Linked DNA regions of Homo sapiens: region 1 is linked to region 2. Evidence: promoter capture Hi-C in 16 types of primary human blood cells and fetal thymus (Javierre and others, 2016). All regions are on one chromosome and are shown on one strand. Each heading gives the region's core, a stretch centred on a gene start or on the middle of the fragment in contact. The rest is flanking DNA. Distances are from core to core; before and after follow the strand shown.

The links. The method cuts DNA at HindIII sites, captures the fragments that hold promoters and counts their contacts. A CHiCAGO score of 5 or more calls a contact.
Region 1: a fragment that was not itself captured here is called in contact with the fragment with the promoter of CTDNEP1 in region 2 in 8 of 17 cell types (naive B cells, naive CD8 T cells, total CD4 T cells and 5 more); the score reaches 9.2 in naive B cells.

Annotation. Positions count from the first base shown.
Region 1 is chr17:7,592,714-7,599,883 of GRCh38, reverse strand. It overlaps FXR2 (FMR1 autosomal homolog 2), which reads left to right. Exons shown (of 17, transcript NM_004860.4): 8 at 3,890-4,060; 9 at 5,127-5,205; 10 at 5,537-5,646; 11 at 5,880-5,966; 12 at 6,259-6,481; 13 at 6,703-6,900; 14 at 6,990-7,170. Among named protein-coding and RNA genes, the nearest start is that of SOX15, 6.2 kb to the right of the region's middle. The HindIII fragment of the contact is 5,554 bases long and covers 2,425-7,170 here.
Region 2 is chr17:7,246,541-7,252,983 of GRCh38, reverse strand. It overlaps CTDNEP1 (CTD nuclear envelope phosphatase 1), which reads left to right and starts at 1,250. Exons shown (of 8, transcript NM_001143775.2): 1 at 1,250-1,789; 2 at 5,641-5,707; 3 at 5,802-5,920; 4 at 6,122-6,193. The coding sequence starts at 1,688. ELP5 (elongator acetyltransferase complex subunit 5) reads right to left here and starts at 769. Exons shown (of 8, transcript NM_203414.3): 1 at 388-769; 2 at 154-214; 3 at 1-66. The coding sequence starts at 433. RefSeq lists silencers at 113-352, 1,123-1,332, 1,403-1,522 and enhancers at 383-602, 471-1,059, 1,060-1,647. The HindIII fragment of the contact is 9,547 bases long and covers 1-6,443 here.

The sequences.
Region 1 (7,170 bases), core at 3,952-6,451, 340 kb before region 2:
TTTGTTTTTTGAGATAGCGTCTCTGTCGCCCAGGCTAGAGCGCAGTGGCGCTATCTTGGCTTACTGCAACCTCCACCTCCCAGATTGAAGCGATTCTCCTGCCTCAGCCTCCCAAGTAGCTGGGATTACAGGTGTGTGCCATCACACCTGGCTAATTTTTGTCTTTTTTAGTAGAGATGGGGTTTCACCATGTTGGCCAGGCTGATCTCAAACTATGGACCTCAGGTGATCCGCCCACCTCGACCTCCCAAAATGTTGGGATTACAGGTGTCAGCCACCACGCCTGGCCTGACTAGAGTATTTCTGTGAGATCTTTTTGAATTCTGACATCGTATAATTGTCAGATTCCCTTTCGTTGGTATTATACTATTCTAAGTGAATAGGGTGTGTGTGTTTGAATACCATTTCCATTTATCAAGGGAATTGATCTTTTTGGGAGGCTTTTTTCTGTGCCTGTGCAATTTCTGGGTCATGATAATCTTTGACTTCTTCAGGGATCCTGCTCAGGGCACTGGCAGGTAAAAATTCACCATTACCTTCAGATGATACAAACTTTATTTTTTGTTTTTGTTTTTTGTTTTGAGATGGAGTCTCAGTCTGTTATCCAGGCTGGAGTGTATGTAGTGGTGCGATCTCAGCTCACTGCAGTCTCTACCCCCCGAGCTCAAGTGATCCTCTCACCTCAGCCTTTGGGTGGGTGGGATTACAGGTGCATGCCACCATACCTGGCTATTTTTTTTTTTTTTTTGGAGACAGTTTCCCTCTGTCACCCAGGCTGGAGTGCAATGGCACAATCTCCGCTCCCTGCAACCTCTCGCTCCTGGGTTCAAGCGATTCTTGTGCCTCGGCCTCCCAGGTAGCTGGGATAATAGGCACGCGCCCCCACGTCTGGATAATTTTTGCTTTTTTAGTGTTTCACCATGTTGCCCAGGCTGGTTTTGAACTCCCGACCGCAGGTGATCCACCTGCCTTGGCCTCCCAAAGTACTGGGATTACAGGCATGAGCCACTATACCTGGCCCTAATTTCAGTATTTTTAGTAGAGACGGAGTTTCACCATGTTGGCTAGGCTGGTCGCGAACCCCTGGCCTCAAGGGATCCACTTGCCTTGGCCTCCCAAAGTGCTGGGATTATAGACATGACCCATTGCACCCGGCCTAATTTTTGTTGTTGTTTTTTAATTTTTTGAGACGGAGTCTCATTCTGTCGTCCAGGCTGGAGTGCAGTAGTGCGATCTCAGCTCACTGCAGCTTGTGTAGTTAGCGCAGAGTGAGCAAAGGGAGACCGATACAAAATTCGGTCAGAGAGTAGATCATGTAAGACATGTACGGTAGGCTGAGGAGGGGGGATTTTATTGTGCGTATACTGAGAAGCCATTGAGTTAACAGTGCCTTCTGGTTTTTTGTTTTGTTTTGTTTTGTTTTGTTTTTGAGACGGAGTCTCGCTCTGTCACCCAGGCTGGAGTGCATTGGCGTGATCTCGGCTCACTGCAAGCTCCACCTCCCAAGTTCACGCCATTCTCCTGCCTCAGCCTCACGAGAAGCTGGGACTACAGGCGCCTGCCACCACGCCCGGCTGATTTTTTTGTATTTTTTTTTAGTAGAGATGGGGTTTCACCGTGTTAGCCAGGATGGTCTTGATCTCCTGACCTCGTGATCCACCCACCTCGGCCTCCCAAAGTGCTGGGATTACAGGCGAGAGCCACTGTGCCCGGCCGAAAGTGCCTTCTGTTTTAAACTCCTGTTTCAATGACAGATGGAAAGGGGGGCAAGAATGGAAGCAGGAACAGAGCACAGTAGTCCAGGTGAGAAACTTGAACTGGAGTGCTAAAGGAAGAGAGAGAGAGTAGTTTTATGTAGGATAAATTTTACGAGTAAAACCAGTAGGACTGACAGGCTCTGTGATACTGAGAGATACATATTTGGTCTCCTGACCAGGCTCCTGGCATTCAACTTCTAAAATCCTTGGAATCTCCAGTGATGTGTGTTTTTGTGTGCTGATGAGTTGATTCATGGCTAGCCCCTCTAGGTGGCTTCATGATTAGAGGGTTGGAACTTTCAGCCTCACCCCCACCAACTTCCTGGGAGGGGAATGGGGCCAAAGGTTAAGGCAATCACTGAGGATCAGTGATTTAATCAGTCATGCCTAGTAGTGAAGCCTCTAAAAACCGGAAAGGGGCCGGGTGCAGCGGCTCACGCCTGCAATCCCAGCACTTTGGGAAGCCGAGGCAGGTGGATTGCCTGAGGTTAGGAGTTTGAGACCAGTCTGGCCAGCATGGTGAAACCCCTTCTCTACTAAAAATACAAAAAAAGGGAGGCAGAAGTTGCAGTGAGCAGAGATCATGCCACTGCACTCTAGCCTGGGTGACAGACCCCATCTCAAAAAAAAGAAAAAAAAAAAAGAAAACCCAGCTGTTCTGCAAGCTTATCTAGAAGACGCTTATAGGTCATTGTAGATCTCTTCCCCTCCCCTCCTAATGTAGTGATTTTGAACACTCAACTTAGTTTATTTTTCCAACTTTCTCTTCTTGCCTGGTATAAATCCTTGGTATAATTCAGTCCTATCCAACTTGGAAGTGGGAAGTAGTGTATTTCAATCTAGGAATGTCTCCTTTCAGGTATTGTTTCTATTTGGTGCTTACAACATGGGATTCACTCCTCTAAAACCTTTCCTGTCTTCCTGCCCCTGAACCCAGGGGTTCCTCTAAGGACTGATTGAGAAATGAAGTGAAAGCCTGGTGTTCTAGAGGCATGTTTTCTGTTTTTCTTAACCCCTCACTTTTTTTTGAGACAGAGTTTTGCTCTGTCACCAGGCTGGAGTGCAGTGGCATGACCTCGGCTCACTGTAACCTCCAACTCCCTGGTTCAAGCAATTCTCCTGCCTCAGCCTCCCAAGCAGCTGGGATTATAGGCACACCCCACCAAGGCCAGCTAATTTTTGTATTTTTAATAGAGATGGGGTTTCACTATGTTGGCAGGATGGTCTTGATCTCCTGACCTTGTGATCCACCTGCCTCAGCCTCCCACAGTGCTGGAATTACAGGCGTGAGCCACCGCGCACAGCCTACCCCTCACTTTTTACTTAAGTTGTTGAGTTTTATTTGGGGATGAGTTGATATTTGTTTGATTAAGGTAAGAGTTCCTTACACTTGCATGTACCTTGTGAGAAGTACTTTCACACCAGCCTTGTCTAATCCTCTTGCTAGTCTTGAGAATAAGATAAGTTGGATATAATCACTTAGCAGATGACACAAGAGGCAGAGTATGTTTTGTTTAAGATCACACAGATAGATACTCTTAGGGACAGATACTGTTAGGGCCAAATCCAGAACTTCGGTGTGTCCCAGTCCAAACTCTGCCCTCTTTACCTTTCCTCCCCCACAAACCACTGGTATTTGGAAGGAGTGGAATTAAAAGTTCCTGACCTTGGCCGGGCGTGGTGGCTTATGCCGGTAATCCCAGCACTTTGGGAGGCTGAGGCGGGCGGATCACCTGAGGTCAGGAGTTTGAGACCAGCCTGGCCAACATGGTGAAACCTTGTCTCTACTAAAAATACAGAAATTAGCCAGGCATGGTGGTGGACACCTGTAGTCGTAGCTACTCAGGAGGCCGAGGCATGAGAATCACTTGAAGTCGAGAGGCGGAGGTTGCAGTGAGCTGAGATCGCGCCACTGCACTCCAGCCTGGGCGACAGAGCGAGACGCCATCTCAAAGAAAAAACAAAAAGTTCCTGACCTTTCCACACAGGTCCTCGTGGTCCGCGGACTCCAGAGTGGTTCTAGCTTTCTATTAATATCACACAGTTTTCCTTATTTAAGTTATGCAAAGGGTCGTGTGCCTGGGACTGTGAGATTCTACCACCATGATTCCTACAGTGACTTTTCCTTTCAGACAAGCAAGCAGTTGGCAGCAGCCTTCCAAGAGGAGTTCACAGTGCGAGAGGACCTGATGGGACTGGCAATTGGGACTCACGGTGCCAACATCCAGCAGGCCCGAAAAGTACCTGGGGTGACCGCCATTGAGTTGGGTGAAGAGACCTGCACTTTCCGCATCTATGGGGAGGTCAGCAAAGGATGTCTTTCTTCTGGGTCTCTTAGGGGATAGAGGGAAGAGAGGCCGAAGTAGAAAATAAGCCTCAAACTGGGCACAGTGGCTCACACCTGTAATCCCAGCACCTTCGGAGGTCAAAGTGAGAGGATCACTTGAGCCTAGGAGTTTGAGACCAGCCTGTGCAACATAGTGAGACCCAATCTCTACAAAAATTTAAAAATTAGCTGGAAGTAGTGGTGCGTACCTGTAGTCGCAGGTACTTGGGAGGCTGAAATGGGAAGATAGAGGGGAGGATCACTTGAGCCTGGGAGTTGGAGAACAACCTGGACAACATAGAGAGACCCTGTCTTTACCCCCCAAAAAAACCAAAAACCAAAAAACGTTAACTGAGCGTGGTGGCATGCATCTGTGGCCCCAGCTACTTGGCTACTTGGGAGGCGGAGGCAGGAGGATCACTTGAGCCTGGAAAGTCAAGGCTGCAGTACACCATGATGGTGCCACTGAACCAACCTGGGCAACATAGTCAATAGAGTGAGACCAAAAAATCAAAAAAATAGACCAGATCTCTGTTGCCCAAGCTGGTTGTTAACTCCTAGCCTCAAGCAATCCTCCCTTCTTAGCCTCCGAAACTGTTGAGATTATGGGTGTGAGCCGCTGTGCCTGGCCAAGGTCCTCTGTTTTTTTTTTTAAGTTATTTATTTGTTTAATTTTTTTTTTTTATGAGATGGAGTCTAACTCACTCTGTTGCCCGGGCTAGAGTGCAGTGGCACAATCTCAGCTTATTGCAACCTCTGCCTCCTGGGTTCAAGAAATCTCCTGCCTCAGCCTCCGGAGTAGCTGGGATTAGAGACGTGAGCCACCAATTTTGTATTTTTAGTATTTTAGTATTTTTGTATTTTGATTTTTGTATTTTTAGTAGAGATGGCGTTTCACCATATTGCCCAGGCTAGTCTTGAACTCTTGAGCTCAATTTATCCACCTGCCTCCAGCCTCCCAAAGTGCTGGGATTACAGGCGTGAGCCACCACATCCAGCTGGTCTTCTGTTTTAGTAACAACTCCCTGCTGTTCTTCCTTTAGACTCCCGAGGCTTGCCGACAGGCCCGAAGCTACCTTGAGTTTTCTGAGGACTCAGTGCAAGTGCCCAGGAACCTGGTTGGTGAGTTGGTGGTGTGTATATACAGTTAGAGGTCAGAATCAAGATTCTCTACAGTGATTCTGAGCTTTTATCCAGGATTGGCACCTCCCTGTGGACTCCCAGTTTCACAAGGACAGAGAAACAGTCTGTAATGGGAGTGATAAAAATGAAAGAATAAATTTCTAGGGATTGTAACATTTTGTCCTGTAAAAACACATCAGAAACCTAGAAGCAGGAGAATGAAGTAAATGGAATCCATATAAAGAAAATGAGGCTGGAAGACGGTGTATCAGCTTTATTCTTATTTCCTTAAAAAAAATAAAAGGCTGAATTCCTCATTTACCTATTCCAGGCAAAGTGATTGGAAAGAACGGGAAAGTGATCCAGGAGATTGTGGATAAATCTGGTGTGGTGAGGGTTCGAGTGGAAGGTGATAATGACAAGAAGAACCCCAGGGAGGAGGTATGGGTACGGGGCAAGTGGGCATAGAGATTGGTTTCCAGAAGTAAATGGGATTGTCCTCTGAGGGCTGGGATTGTTCTTTGAGAGGGTGGAGTACGGAAAGTTGTTTAACACTAGTAGATTTAGAGCCCAGAATGATCCCACTGGGCAGGCTCCCCTAGGAGACTGGGCGGCGTTAATCCTTCCATTTCATTTTCCTTTCTGATCCATCGTTTCTGCTCTCTGTTCTCTAGGGAATGGTTCCCTTCATTTTTGTTGGCACCCGAGAGAACATCAGCAATGCCCAGGCTTTGCTGGAGTATCACCTCTCCTACCTGCAGGTACCCAGGCCGGGAGAGAAAAATGCTGGGTGTGAAAAGGGAACTAAGACTGCTGTGGGGGTCAGCTCAGGGATTTTGGTTCTCTGTTTGTCTCTCCGTGTAGAACAGAAAACATCTGTGGAAATTTGGGGCTATAGGGTTGGGTCCCAGAATTTTCCTTGTTTAGCCAGTGTCTTCCTTCTCCCTGCATTCCTGAGAGGTTAGATATAGAGGGACAGTCAGGGTGCAGAAGCATGAAGCAAGGCACTGATCTTATTTCTCCTTCCCCTTCTTCCATCTTTTACCCAACCAGGAGGTAGAGCAGCTTCGCTTGGAGAGGCTACAAATTGATGAGCAGCTTCGGCAGATTGGGCTGGGCTTTCGCCCTCCTGGGAGTGGGCGGGGCAGCGGTGGCAGCGACAAGGCTGGATATAGCACTGATGAGAGCTCCTCCTCCTCCCTCCATGCGACTCGAACCTATGGGGGCAGCTATGGGGGCCGTGGCCGTGGCCGGAGGACAGGCGGTCCTGCCTATGGTGAGACAGTTATGGGAACAGGAGGCAAGGAGTGGCAGGGCTTGTGGGTAGAGGCAGAGGTCTGGATGGAAGTTTGGGGAAATCTGGAATGGAGATGATGAAAAAGTGATTGATTGGCTGGGAGGCTTGTGAGTGAGAAGGAGAATTCTTCCAGTTTGGGGGATGTGATGGATCCTGAGGTGGGATGAATGGCCGTGAATAAATCCCATTGTGTTCTTCAGGCCCCAGCTCAGATGTGTCTACAGCTTCAGAGACTGAGTCAGAGAAGAGAGAGGAGCCCAACCGAGCTGGGCCTGGCGACAGGGATCCCCCAACCCGAGGGGAAGAAAGCCGGAGGCGGCCGACTGGGGGCCGGGGTAGGGGACCCCCACCTGCCCCCCGGCCCACTTCGAGATACAATTCTTCATCTATTAGCTCAGGTACCAGACAGCTGGGTTCATGAATATGGGCCAAAAGGAAAGATGATGGGCACCTGACTGCCAACTCCTCCTCTTCTTCCTCTGACCAGTGCTGAAGGATCCAGACAGTAATCCCTACAGCCTATTGGACACGTCTGAACCAGAGCCCCCGGTTGATTCAGAACCTGGGGAACCCCCCCCAGCAAGTGCCAGGCGCCGCCGCTCCCGCCGCCGCCGCACTGATGAAGACAGGACCGTCATGGATGGAGGCCTGGAATCAGATGGGCCCAA
Region 2 (6,443 bases), core at 1-2,500:
GAGTCAAAACCTTCACGAAACTCTTCCTCGCTCACTTCACAGCCCAGGATATGCACTTGCTCCCCACTAAGGCAGAGATGAGAAGGGATTGTCAAAGAGTGGGCACAGGTGCCCTATCCAGGGTAGGCCGGGGAGACACTGTGGGATACTCACCACAGTGCAGATTTCTTGACAAGCGCCTTCAAGAGACTGCGCCCCTCCCACTCCACGGAATCTGCAGAGCGAGGGACGGATAAAGGGTATGAGAGCGCTGGGATTACCGCCTTCGCGAACCCGTCGCGATTTCCACACCTAGCCTGTGACCCCTGGCCCTTCCTGCCCACTTCCGTCCCCTCAGCCAGGCCCGAACCGCACCCCCCGCCCCGCCACCGTGCCTCTGGCTCTCACCCCGAAGCAGCACCAGGCCGCCCAAGGCCAACAGCGAGTCCAACATCTCCAACTCGCGTCCGGTCCCTGCTCTGGCGCCCTCTGATGGCGTCATGACCCAGTGTCCTTCCTCCTCGGGGTGAAACGGGCCGAGCACTCGGGCGTCCTCCCACCATTAAGACCTAACATAGTCTGGAATGAGAGGTGATTATGTTCAATATTCCCAGGGGGGCGCTCACGCGGAGGGCGCCCCTCCCCGAGCCCTGGCGCACAGTCGTACGGACAACGACCCCGTCTACATTTTCACTGTGACCGGGGCGGGAAGAGCAGTTGGGGCAGTTGTCAGTGGGAGGGGGAGGAGGACCCACAAGCCCCCCGCGAGGGCCCTAAGCGCGGGCCAAGTGACGTCACTCTCCCCGCCCACGCAGTTTGAGGCGGGGCCTGCTTCGCCTCAGGCCCCGCCCCGCGGCCACCTTCTGCGCGTGCGCAATACTGCAGCCTCGCTTGGAGTGCTTTTGGCTTTCCTTATACCTACCCGCCATAGACCGCGCAGGAGGAACTTAGTCCCGGTGAAGCGAATACACGTCACCACCGGAAGTAGTGTCAAAGGGGAAGAGGAGGGGGAAAGACAGGAAGAGGGAGTCCTTTGGACGGTAAAATGGCGCCTGTCAGAGTGGGAAACCCAGCTGCAGAGGCTGCAGCCCCGGTCCCCAGCGGCTAAAGGACCCCCGAGCTCGGGGAGGGGGAGGCCGCTCCGGCCCAGCGCTCTGCGCCCTCCGGCTCCCCCTCCCCCTCCTTCCCTGCTCCTTCGCTCTGCAGGCCCGTTCTCCGCTGCCGCGGCCCTTTGCGCGCCGCTGCCCCCGCCCTCCCCGTTCCTGCGAGCAGCCCCCTAGCGCGCCTGCGCAGCGGGCCACTCTCTGCTTTCCCCCCCTCCCCTTCCCTTTTCCCTTCCTCCCTTTTCCCTAGCCCCCTCCCCCACTGCCCCCTCCCCCAATTATCCTTCCCCTTCCCTCCAGGTCTCGGAGGACCCCATCCTAGCCCTACCTGTCTCGGCCCGCAACCTCCCCGAAGCCGTCGGTGCCACTCCCAGCCCATGTGGGCCCCCGCGGGCTGCCCACGCCTGTCCCCCAGCTCCCCGTTCCGCTGGGCTTTACCCTCGCCAGGGGTGGCTTTCTGAGCCGCCCGCTCCGTGCCCCTCTCTGCAGCCTCTCCTGCCACTCGGGGCCCCCGTTCCCCCTCCCGGCGGCGGGGGGCTGCCCCCGGGGGGCTGGCGGAGCTGGGCCGCGGGGGCCCCGGGGCCGGCGGTGCCGGGGTCATCGGGATGATGCGGACGCAGTGTCTGCTGGGGCTGCGCACGTTCGTGGCCTTCGCCGCCAAGCTCTGGAGCTTCTTCATTTACCTTCTGCGGAGGCAGATCCGCACGGTGAGCCAGGGTGGGCGCTGGCGGTGTTGGGGACGTCTGGCGGTGTTGGGGACATCTGTCCGTGGTGCTCAGGGGTTTTCGGAGTGTCGGGCCTCTGTTTGGGCCTAGGAAGGGAATCCTGGCTGGGGCTTTTCTCGCCAGAGAATTGGGCACCCTAAGCGGGGCGAGGTGGGAGACCCTTGTAATAGAACCTTGCCCTTGGGGGTTTTGATGGGGCTAGATGGGACAGGATTTGGCAACTCTTGGGGGCTAAGGTGGTGGGTGGGGCGCTCTTTAAGAAAGCTGGAGTTGTTGCTAAAGAAACCAAGAGGCGGGGAACACCTGTTTGATGACAGCCGGATCTGTGGATGTGGGCTTGGGAAAGACCCTATTTGGAACCTCGGTGTGTGTTTGGTCCTATAACAAGGAAGAGACAGACTTGTGTGTCAAGGGTGGAGGTGGGTGGGAGGGCATACGTTACAAACAAGGACGGGAACTTGGGAAAGCCCTGGGTGTGAAGGAGAAACGCCTGCGGTTCCCATTAAGAGAATTCCTCCAAAAAGGCTGTGAAAATTTATTTCATAGTGTGAGTGTAGGTATCTGGATTTATTGAAGACTAAAGCAGATGCTTTTACGATGGGCCTCTTTAATTGTGGGAGGGAGTTCAAGGTGGGTGCTGTGCCCACCATTGAAGTTTGGGTGTCCCTGTCAGAGGACAGCGCTGGGCAGTTGTAGGGCTTGAAAATGAGGACGTTTGCTTCTCCAGGAGAGCCTAGCATTCTGAGGGAAACTGTCCGGATGGACCCAAGCATCTCTGGGTCCCCTCTCCCTTAGCTTTTCTCCAAGGTCAGAGGTCCTTCAGCTAACAGCACTTTAAATGAATGTGCTCTTGTGGTCTCACCACCACCAGGGAGAATCCTCGGAAGGAGTCTGGGGAGAATTTAGTAAGCGGAGACACAGGTTCTGGGTCTGTACTGTGGTCTGTACCCCTTAGCATACCTCAATACAATTTGAAAGAATAAACCCAGGTTGGGGTGACCTGGGGTCCAGAGAATTTCCAGAAAGCCCTCAGTGGTAGTGGTGGTTGATTTAACTGATTTGGGAGAATGGGTCTGGCCTTGGGTTCATTCTGTCCTTTACCAGTCTGCTTCCACTTCCTGATTTAGGGCGCGAACAGTACAGGATGGTTGTGGCTGTAGGCAGCAGCGCTATTCCCCCGAGACAAGAGCTAGGAGCCAAGAAAAATTTAGGGTCAGAGATGCTGGGATATGTGTGGGGCTATCTCCTGGGGTTTTCTTTTCTTTTCTGAGACAGTCTCGCTTTGTCGCCCAGGCTGGAGTGCAGTGGTGCCATCTCCGCTCACTGCAACCTCCACTTCCTGGGTTCAAGCGATTCTCCTGCTTCAGCCTCTCGAATAGCTGGGATTACAGGCACCTGCCACCACACCTGGCTAATTTTTGTAATTTTAGTAGAAACGGGTTTTCACCATGTTGGCCAGGATGGTCTCAAACTCCTGACCTCAAGTGATCTGCCCGCCTTGGCCTCACAAAAGTACTGGGATTGAGCCACTGCACCCGGCCTCCAGCGGTTTTCTTTATGGGTTGACTGCCATCTTCTCTGACGTTCTCGCTCCAACACATCAGTTTTCTGGGCATACGGAGTGGTGCTTCAGCTCATCCACAGGTTACTTCCAAAATTGCTCTCCTTTGGGCAGCACTGACCCCATAGCCTTTTGTCCTCCCTTCCCTTCCAATCTGGTTTCTTTCCCCACCCCGCTTCTGGCAGATGCTTGGAGCATTCCCTACATGCCCAGCATATGCAACCCGAGATAGCAAGGCTGGACACTGGAGCTCTTTCGGACCTCATCATGGCCCAGGGAGAAAAGAAGGGCAGATCTTGATTAGGGGGAGAGAGCCCTGTGGGTTTAGAAGGGAGAACCTGGTTCTGGTGTGGCTTGGGGCCTAGGTATGCACTGAAGAGGGTTTGTACCTTTGAAGAAAAGTGTGGAAGAGGGAATTGCCAGGCTTTGTATGGGGAGATGTGCGTATTAGGAAATAGCCCCTAGAGAATGCTTGGAGAAGCAGAGCTGGATGAGGTGGTGACGTCCTTGTCCCTTATTCACCTCTCACTTAACGGCCCTGACTTCACTCTGGCCTCCTCCAGACCCTGCCAGTCAGCCTGGCAGGGGCTTTCCAGTGTTCTTTGCCTCACCCTGGGTACCAGGATAAGGAGACTGTTCAGAGGGCTGAGGTTCTCTGAACTTGTGACTTGGCTAGAAGGGACAGAAGTGGACAGGTGGCTGGTTAAAATAGGCCTGGTGGCTTCTAGCCAGAGGAACTTAGCTGACCTGACAACCTCTGGATTCCCTCATTCTATATTCCCATTAAGGACCCAGGGATCTCCTCCCGACTCCTACTCCATGTGCACTAGGGAATCTGAGGCACTTAGTTCCCAATGATGGTAGTTGCTACAAATAATTCTTGGGGTGAAGGTTGCGTTGTGGGGGTCGTTTCTTTGTTCAGTGTAGCAGGATAATATCACAGTTAAGAGGGCAGCTTCGGCCGGGGGTGGTGGCTCTTGCCTGTAATCCCAGCACTTTGGGAAGCTGAGGCAGGTGGATCATGAGGTCAGGAGCTCAAGACCAGCCTGGCCAATATGGTGAAACCCCGTCTCTACTAAAAATACAAAAATTAGCTGGGCGTGGTTCGCGCGCCTATAGTCCCAGCTGCTTAGGAGGCTGAGGCAGGAGAATTGCTTGAACCTGGGAGGTGGAGGTTGCAGTGAGCTGAGATCGCGCCACTGCACTCCAGCCTGGGCAATGGAGTGAGACTCCCTTCTCAAAAAAAAAAAAAAGAAAAAAAAAGAGGGCACGTTCTTGGGTTGAACTGCATTGGTACAATCCTGGCTCTATCACTTCATTGATTCTACTTTTTTTTTTTTTTTTTTTTTTTTTTTTGCGACGGAGTCTTGCTCTGTCACCAGGCTGGAGTACAGTGGTGCGATCTCGGCTCACTGCAACCTCTGCCTCCTGGGTTCAAGCCACTCTGCTGCCTCAGCCTCCCGAGTAGCTGGGGCTATGGGCACGCACCACCACGCCCAGCTAATTTTTATATTTTTAGTAGAGACGGGGTTTCACCATGTTGGCCAGGATGGTCTCCGTCTCTTGACCTTGTGATCCGCCTGCCTTGGCCTCCCAAAGTGCTGGGATTACAGGCATGAGCCACTGCGCCTGGCTGATTCTACTAATATCAACTGACCACTTTTGCTACTGTGTTCTAGGCACTGGGAATACAGCCATGATCTAGACAAAATCATATTCTCATGGAGTTTTCATTTTAATTAGGGAGAGAAACAACTTAAGATAATTCCTAGCTGTGTGGCCTCAGTTTCTTTAACCTTAAAACAGGTATAACAGTAATATTATGGTTGTTTTGAGGATTAAATGAAAAAGGCCAGCGTAGTGGCTCATTCCTGTAATCCCAGCACTTTGGGAGGCAAAGGCAGGAGGATCACAAGGTCAGGAGTTTGAGACCAGCCAGGCCAATATAGTTAAACCCCGCCTCTACTAGAAATACAAAAATGAGCCGAGCGTGGTGGTGCACGCCTGTAGTCCCAGCTATTAGGGAGGCTGAGGCAGGAGAATTGCTTGAACCTGGGAGGCGGAGGTTGCAGTGAGCCGAGATCATGCCGCTGCACTCCAGCCTGGGCAACAGAGCGAGACTCCATCTCAAAAAAAAAAAAAAAAGAAGAAGAAATAAGCCTAAATTACATACATAGTACCTGTGGTAAATGTTCATTATGTGCTCCCTGTTACTGTTACTGGGGAAGGCTTCCTTATCAAGGGTTTCAATCCTCTTTTGTGCTATTTGTAGGTAATTCAGTACCAAACTGTTCGATATGATATCCTCCCCTTATCTCCTGTGTCCCGGAATCGGCTAGGTAAGTATGTGGTGGGAAGCCTCCTTTAGGGTGAAGTAGGGGCTAGCTCTGGGTCAGAGGTCGGTCAATATTATTCCTCCCCACTCTGGTTCAGCCCAGGTGAAGAGGAAGATCCTGGTGCTGGATCTGGATGAGACACTTATTCACTCCCACCATGATGGGGTCCTGAGGCCCACAGTCCGGCCTGGTACGCCTCCTGACTTCATCCTCAAGGTGTGTGGTGGTGGGGAGTGATGAAATGGTTCCATCTGTTCCTCTGCCCAAACCTGGACTCCCTTTCCCAGTCCCAGAGCATCTGTCTCCATCCGCTGGCACCAGTGTCAGCCTGGAGGAGGGAAGCAGATGGGTGGGGCGTTTTCTAGGCCTGGGTTGTGGTGGTCATGACATCCCCCAGCCCATCTTGTTCCTCTGTAGGTGGTAATAGACAAACATCCTGTCCGGTTTTTTGTACATAAGAGGCCCCATGTGGATTTCTTCCTGGAAGTGGTGAGTTTTGGAGAGCTAAAGGGAGCTCTGTAATGAAGGAATGGTTTTAGGGCTCTGGGAATTGGGAGGATTTGGAGGAAGGGGTGAGGAGAAACGGGTTAGAGCAGTTTTCTAGAGGGGAGGCTGTGTAATGGTAGGGGAGTGGCTTTCAGTACTTGGGGTTCATTTGTTGTGCTGATGTAATTCTTTTCCGCTGGCATCTTTCTCTTTTGTTCTTGCATTTCTGAATCATAAGAGTGTAGGATGCCTA